Regions from separate parts of the Homo sapiens genome. Here region 1 is linked to region 2. Evidence: promoter capture Hi-C in 16 types of primary human blood cells and fetal thymus (Javierre and others, 2016). All regions are on one chromosome and are shown on one strand. Each heading gives the region's core, a stretch centred on a gene start or on the middle of the fragment in contact. The rest is flanking DNA. Distances are from core to core; before and after follow the strand shown. Region 1 overlaps GLE1 (GLE1 RNA export mediator). Region 2 holds the start of ZDHHC12 (zDHHC palmitoyltransferase 12).

Region 1 (3,682 bases), core at 937-3,436, 210 kb after region 2:
GAAATCTTCTAGAAAACAAAACAATAAGACAAAAGGAAAATGAAAGAAAGAATAGGACATATAGAGGATTAACTTAGGCAATGGAGAGGTGAACTAATCAAGGGGAAAAATTTCCAAAGATGCAGGAAATAAATCTTTGAATTAAAACAACTCTGATATGCAGAATTAGTCGTTTCTCACCATCTCCATTGCTACCACCCTACTCTAAGCAACCACCATCTTTCACCCAGATTACAACAATGTTCCAAATATTTTACTTATTTCTCTTGTTTACTTCTGTCTCTTCCCACCACAATATAAGCTCTATGTCTATAATGTTTACTGTTTTATCTAGACCTGGAACAGCATCTAGCACATAGGTGCTCAGCAAATATTTATTGACTCAATGACCAATGAGGCAAGATGTTAGAAGACTTTCATTTTCTTTTTCTTTTTTTTTTTTGAGATAAAGTATTGCCCTGCTGCCCAGGCTAGAGTGCAGTGGCACAATCTTGGCTCACTGCCACCTCTGCCTCCCGGGTTCAAGTGATTCTCCTGCCTCAGCCTCCCCAGTAACTAGTATTATAGGCATGTGCCACCATGCCCGGCTAATTTTTGTATTTTTAGTAGAGATGGGGTTTCGCCATGTTGGCCAGGCCAGTCTGGAACTCCTTATCTCAGGTGATCCACCTGCCTCACCCTCCCAAAGTGCTGGGATTACGGGCATGAGCCTCCGTGCCTGGCCAAGACTTTCATTTTCTAAATTCCTGTACTCTGAAACATTTTTACAAGATCATGCATTGCTTTCCTAATTAAAAAAAAATACATGCTGGGCGCAGTGGCTTATGCCTGTAATCCCAGCACTTTGGGAGGCTGAGGTGGGTGGATCACCTGAGGTCAGGAGTTTGAGACCAGCCTGGCCAACACGGTGAAACCCCGTCTCTACTAAAAAATACAAAAATTAGCCAGGCGTGGTGGCAGGCGCCTGTAATCTCAGCTACTTGGGAGGCTCAGGCAGGAGAATTGCTGGAACCCAGGAGGCGGAGGTTGCAGTGAGCCAAGATTGCACCACTGCACTCCAGCCCGGGCTGACAACAGCAAGACTCTGTCTCAAAAAAACAAAAACAAAAAACAGGCCGGGCACGGTGGCTCATGCCTGTAATCCCAGCACTCTGGGAGGCCGAGGCGGGCAGATCACGAGGTCAGAAGATCAAGACCGTCCTGGCTAACACGGCAAAACCCTGTCTCCACTAAAAATACAAAAAATTAGCTGGGCGTGGTGACAGGCACCTGTAGTCCCAGCTACTTGGGAGGCTGAGGCAAGAGAATAGCATGAACCTGGGAGGCGGAGCTTGCGGTGAGCCGAGATGGTGCCACTGTACTACAGCCTGGGCAACAGAGCAAGACTCCATCTCAAAAACAAAAACAAAAACAAAATACAATCAAATAAATTAATTAAAATAGTGCTGCTATTTTTTCAAGAGGCTAAGGTCCTGACTGGGCATCGTGGCTCATGCCTGTAATCCCAGCACCTTGGGAGGCTGAGGCAGGTGAATCACCTGAGGTCAGGAGTTCGAGACCAGCCTGACCAACATAGTGAAACCCCGTCTCTAGTAAATAGAAAATAAAGTAGCTGGGTGTGGTGGCGCGAGCCTGTAATCCTAGTTACTTGGGAGGCTGAGGCAGGAGAATCACTTGAACCTGGGAGGTGGAGGTTGCAGTGAGCCAAGATTACACCACTGTAGTCCAGTCCAGCCTGGGCAACAAGAGCAAAAACTCCACCTCAAAAAAAAAAAAAAAGAGGCTAAGGTCCCATTTTCTCAGAATAAGCTTATCTAACAATCCCAGACCATTTCCAAATTTTGGAGAAGTAAATGGAAGCCAGAAAAGGCTAAGTAATTTTCCCAAAGTCACATGTAAAATGTAACAGCCAGGATCTGAAACCAGACTTGACTTCAGAGCACTCACTCCTGACCTCTATTACACTACCCCCAAAACTAAACAGTAGGTGGGAAGGATGAGTAGCATACAGTGCCCATTCCTACGCCCTGGGGAACTGCAGTTAAATGTGGCTCGCAGGATCAAGGCTGCCTTCCTTCATGGGTTCACTTACTGTTCCTTTCATTCTGTGTACCAGTTCGTACATTCGGACGCAGCCTTCCACTTTGATCCCCCGTGAGGACTGAAGTACCATAGATTCTGTGTGCTGGGACTCATCTTTGCCCTATATGAGCAGAAAATGGAAAAATAATTAAAAAATAAGTTTTTAATATGGTAAAGTTGGTGTTATCTCTTCTAGACAAAGACCACATCCCAACTTATGAACAACCACCAATAACAAGAGCAAAAAAAAAATTTAGGTCAGAACTAGTGTGCTTTTCATGAATGACATTGACTTTGTTCTAATTGTTTTCTTTAATAAATTGATGTTTGTTACTTTGGGTGATTTTTTGGGTTTTTCTATGTTTTTTTTGACTTGTTTGTTTTACTCTGCCTAGAAAATGTTTCCCCTTTCTTCAGATCAGTGTCCATTTATCCTGGGATGCTTTGGATGGAGTATCCCCAACCTACATCCCTAAGCTTCCATCCTCCTGGCTTCAGGAGAAAGCTGGCTATCAAAGTACTCTATCCTCAGGCCGGGTGTGGTGGCTCACGCCTGTAATCCCAGTACTTTGGGAGGCAGAGGTGGGCGGATCACAAAGTCAGGAGTTCGAGACCATCCTGACCAACATGGTGAAACCCCGTCCCTACTAAAAACACAAAAATTAGCCAGGCGTGGTGGCACGCACCTATAATCCCAGCTACTGAGGAGGCAGGCTAAGGCAGGAGAATCCCTTGAACCCAGGAGGCGGAGGCTGTAGTGAGCTGAGATCGCGCCACTGCACTCCAGCCTGGGCGACAGAGCAAGACTCCATCTCAAAAAAAAGGCCAGGCACCTTTTTCCCCAGCACTTTGGGAGGCTGTGGTGGGCGGATTACAAGGTCAGGAGTTTGAGACTATCCTGACCAACATGGTGAAACCCTGTCTCTACTAAACATACACAAGACATACCCTGTCTCTACTAAACCCTGTCTCTACTAAACATACACAAGACATACTCTGTCTCTACCAAACATACACAAGTTAGCCGGGCATGGTGGCACGTGCCTAGGCATGGTGGCGGGCGCCTGTAGTCCCAGCTACTCGGGAGGCTGAGGCGGGAGAATGGCGTGAACCTGGGAGGTGGAGCTTGCAGTGCGCAGAGATCGTACGACTGCACTCTAGCCTGGGATACAGAGACTCCGTCTCAAAAAAAAAAAAAAAAAAAGTCTGCTATCCTCCTACACCCAGTATGGACTTGAGGAATGAAAAATATGACCTGAAGGCCAGAGTTCATCTTTGAACTTTTCTAAGTTTTTTTTTTTTTTTTTTTTTGAAACAAGATCTCACTCTGTTTCCCAGGCTGGAGTATAGTGGCGTGATCACGGATCATTACAGCCTGGACCTTCCAGCTTCAATTGATCCTCCTGCCTCAGTCTCACAAGTAGCTGGGACCACTGGCGCACGCCACCACACCTGGCTAATTTTTGTATTTTTTTGTAGAGACAGGGTTTTGTCATGTTGCCCAGGCTGGTCCCAAACTCCTAGTCTCAGGCAAGCCTCCTACCTCAGGCTCCCAAAGTGCTACAATTACAGGCATGAGCCACTATGCCTGGCCTATTTT
Region 2 (3,489 bases), core at 52-2,551:
GGATCTAGAGGGCTCAGACAATGTTGTTCAGACCATCTCTTGCTCCCTCCTTTAGTGCTGCTTATCCATCTCTATGTGTCTTTATAAGTTGGTCTCATTTTCTCCAGCCACAGACAGGGTAAGCCCTCTCCGCCCAGCGTAAAGACGGCTCCCAGTTGCCTTATATCCCATTCCTTAGGCTTGAGATCCAAAAGAATGCTCCTTCCTCTCAGCATCTAGACAGTAATCTCATGGAAGGCCTGTGATTGGTTCTGCAGAGTCGAAAGCCCACAGCCTGCCGCTCGCCATCCTATGGGGTGAGGGGCAGTCCCTCCAATCACATGGGATGGGAAGTCGATTCCCCAACCAAAAAAAGGATGTTGAGCTGAGAAAAACAACAGATGTCAGAGGAGTATCCTGGAGGAGCTGGGATGGGGCCAATCAGAGGGAGGCGGAGGAGGATGCTGGTATCAGTGGGAGGTGCTGTGGAAAGGCGGGGCTGAGTGGAGAAGGCCCTGGGGACACAGGGAAGGAGGACAGCCTGCAGCCTCCGGTGAGGAAAGTCCGCCTGTAGGTGGTGGCTCACAGCAGGAGAGGCAAGACAGTCCCGTGCTAGACAAGGCGCTTCCATTATTTAATCCTCCCAAACACCTTAGGAGGAAGACACTATTGTAATCCCCCTTATAGAGACAGAAAACAGCTCAGAGGGGCTCAGTAACTCGCCCAGGGTCACACAGGTAGGAAGGGGCAGTGCTGGGATTTCTGACTCCCGCCTAAGTTGGATCACCCATAGTCAGAATGTGCACCACGTACCTCCACTTTTCTCTCGTCCGTTTGCAATATCTGAGAATACATAGCAAGGAGGTAAAGCTGTCACCACAGAGCAACCTTGGGCGAGCCTTGGCCCTCTCGAGACTTTAGTCATCACATCTTTGAAATGGGTACAATTTTGCCTCCCGGACTCACAGCAAGCCGCTGGATCTTCGAAGCGCCCAGGGAGCTACGCGCATGCGCGAGGCTGCGAGGGCGGGCACAGGGGAACGCGGGGGAGGGCACAGCGGAGCGCGGGGGAGGTGCGCGCGCGCTCCGGCGCTTTCAAAAGTTACCTGGCGGGTGGGGCTGGAGTTGAGGGAGTTACCAGCTGCGCGCGCGCCGGCCCCACCCTCAGCCTCTTCAGGCACCTGTTGGCTTGAGGGTCCATTCGGCCGCAGATGCCATCCAATAGGCAGCCTCCCTGACCCAGTCCGGCCCCGCCCAACGCCTAGATCCACCAGTCCCCGGGCGGCGGCGTTCCCCTCCCTCGGAGGGCCCGCCCCTCTGGGCGCTTCTTCCGGGTGGGGCCCCGGGCCGAGGCGATGGCGCCCTGGGCGCTCCTCAGCCCTGGGGTCCTGGTGCGGACCGGGCACACCGTGCTGACCTGGGGAATCACGCTGGTGCTCTTCCTGCACGATACCGGTGAGCCGGACCCCGAGCGACCCCGGACCCACCCGATCCCGCGTACTTCCCCAGACGTTCTGGTCACACTGGGTCTCCCGCCTAATCCCTGGAGATCCTGGGATTGGCCCGATCTCCACCAGCTCCTGAAGCCCTCTCCCCATCTATCATTCCAAGAGCCACCTGCTCTCTGTCTGATACCCCGTTGATCCCTAATTAATCCCAGCATCTTCCTGATCATTGCCAAATGCCCTGTCCATCCCAGGACCCAGCCGGTGCCCACCAGATCCAAGGACCGACTTGAGCCCCATGTCCCCTGATCCTGGGACCCACATGATCCTTCCCAGGAACTGACCCCAAATCTTCCTATCCATACGATTAGGAGGCTCAACTAGATGCAAAGATTGGCATTCTGCCCACACCCACACCCCCCACACCCCCATGGCCACTAGCTGCCCAAGTCCAGGCAAACCCTCAGGCCAGAGAACACTCCATGGGGTGCGGCCTGTCTCCCATCTTCCCACAGATTCACCCACCCACCCACCTCCATTTCCCTCATTCCTCTTAGTAGCCCCCTACCCAGCGCCTCACCTGCCACAGGCAGCCTCCCCCACTGTCCCCCACAGCAGACCCCAGCCCTCCTTCCATGGCGGTCCAGCCTCAGTTTCTGGACTGGGGCCCCTTCTGGCTTTCCTCCCAAGACAGACCTCCTCCACCACCTTCACCCTTTAGCCTAAAAACTTGCTCAGGTCTCCGTATCAGAAAACCCCCCTCAAAACCCACCCTTTCTTCTCTGCTCCCCCTTACAACCAAGGGACACAGGATTTGTCTACACTCTGCTGTCTGGTGGTCTCATGCCCCCTCACTCCTTGCCCTGCACCCTACCTCCCCAAAATCCTGTCACCTCCCTGGGCTGAAGCCTGCTGGACCCTTCCGTATGCCCCTCTGCAGCATCTGAGCCTGCCAGCTGCACCCTTCCCACTGTATCTCTCTCAGGCATTTCAGACCTAACCAGTCTCTCACCATTGCAGAGCCAGAGACGCTGGACCCCTCTTCCCTCTCTCCCACATCCAGTCAGGTCTGGCTCCCTTGACCCAGCAGCCCCCTGTCCATTCCTTCCTCCCTCACTTCCTGCCAGGCCTTTGTAGCGACTCTCTTCTTCCTCCTGGCCAGATTCTCTGCCCCCAGGCTTCCCCTGATCCATTTCTTTAGCAATGAGGTTTTCCAAAACAGATCTGGCTCTATAACCTTCCATGGTTCCCTCTGACCCTCCAGATAAAAGTGCAGATGAACTGCTGGCCACACACAGCCACTCATGGAACCAACATCTCCAGGCCTTTGCTCAGCCAGGAACACACTTCCCCACCTCCAACTGCACCCCAACCCCACCCACTCCTGTTCTACCCGGCCCAGCCTCACTGTGCTCTCCGGCCTCTCCAGAGCTGCGGCAATGGGAGGAGCAGGGGGAGCTGCTCCTGCCCCTCACCTTCCTGCTCCTGGTGCTGGGCTCCCTGCTGCTCTACCTCGCTGTGTCACTCATGGACCCTGGCTACGTGAATGTGCAGCCCCAGCCTCAGGTAACCAGGGGCCCCTACTCTCACCAACAGGGACCTAACAACCAGCACCAGTCTCCATGCCAGGCTCTGTGCTGCAGGCTCTTGTGGGAGCAGTTCAGTGACTCCTCTTGCCACCCCTAGAGCCCCATCTACAGTAGTGAGGAAACTGCTGGGCCCCAGAGAAGGAAGAGACTTGCAAACATACACAGCCGCCCTCAGTCCAGGGTGCTCCGCCATACCCCACACCTCCATTCTGCATGGGATGGGTCCCAAACTCCATACCCAGAGCTAAGCCGGCCCCTAGGGGAGCTGCCCGCCAATGCCATCTGTCTCCCAAGGGGACCCTGTCTTACACCCCACCCCTCATTCCAGGAGGAGCTCAAAGAGGAGCAGACAGCCATGGTTCCTCCAGCCATCCCTCTTCGGCGCTGCAGATACTGCCTGGTGCTGGTGAGTGATGCACGGACACCCGTGGGAGAGGTTGGGCCAAAGCTGAGACTCCTCGACCTCCTCCTGCCCC

What was found. The method cuts DNA at HindIII sites, captures the fragments that hold promoters and counts their contacts. A CHiCAGO score of 5 or more calls a contact.
Region 1: a contact is called between a fragment that was not itself captured here and the fragment with the promoter of ZDHHC12 in region 2, in 1 of 17 cell types (erythroblasts). The highest score is 5.4, in erythroblasts.

Annotation. Positions count from the first base shown.
Region 1 is chr9:128,514,050-128,517,731 of GRCh38, reverse strand. It overlaps GLE1 (GLE1 RNA export mediator), which reads right to left. Exons shown (of 16, transcript NM_001003722.2): 3 at 2,093-2,203. Among named protein-coding and RNA genes, the nearest start is that of GLE1, 11 kb to the right of the region's middle. The HindIII fragment of the contact is 750 bases long and covers 1,812-2,561 here.
Region 2 is chr9:128,721,939-128,725,427 of GRCh38, reverse strand. It overlaps ZDHHC12 (zDHHC palmitoyltransferase 12), which reads left to right and starts at 1,301. Exons shown (of 5, transcript NM_032799.5): 1 at 1,301-1,434; 2 at 2,854-2,990; 3 at 3,342-3,419. The coding sequence starts at 1,335. ZDHHC12-DT (ZDHHC12 divergent transcript) reads right to left here and starts at 966. Exons shown (of 2, transcript NR_046240.1): 1 at 793-966. RefSeq lists a silencer at 933-1,412. The HindIII fragment of the contact is 13,716 bases long and covers 1-3,489 here.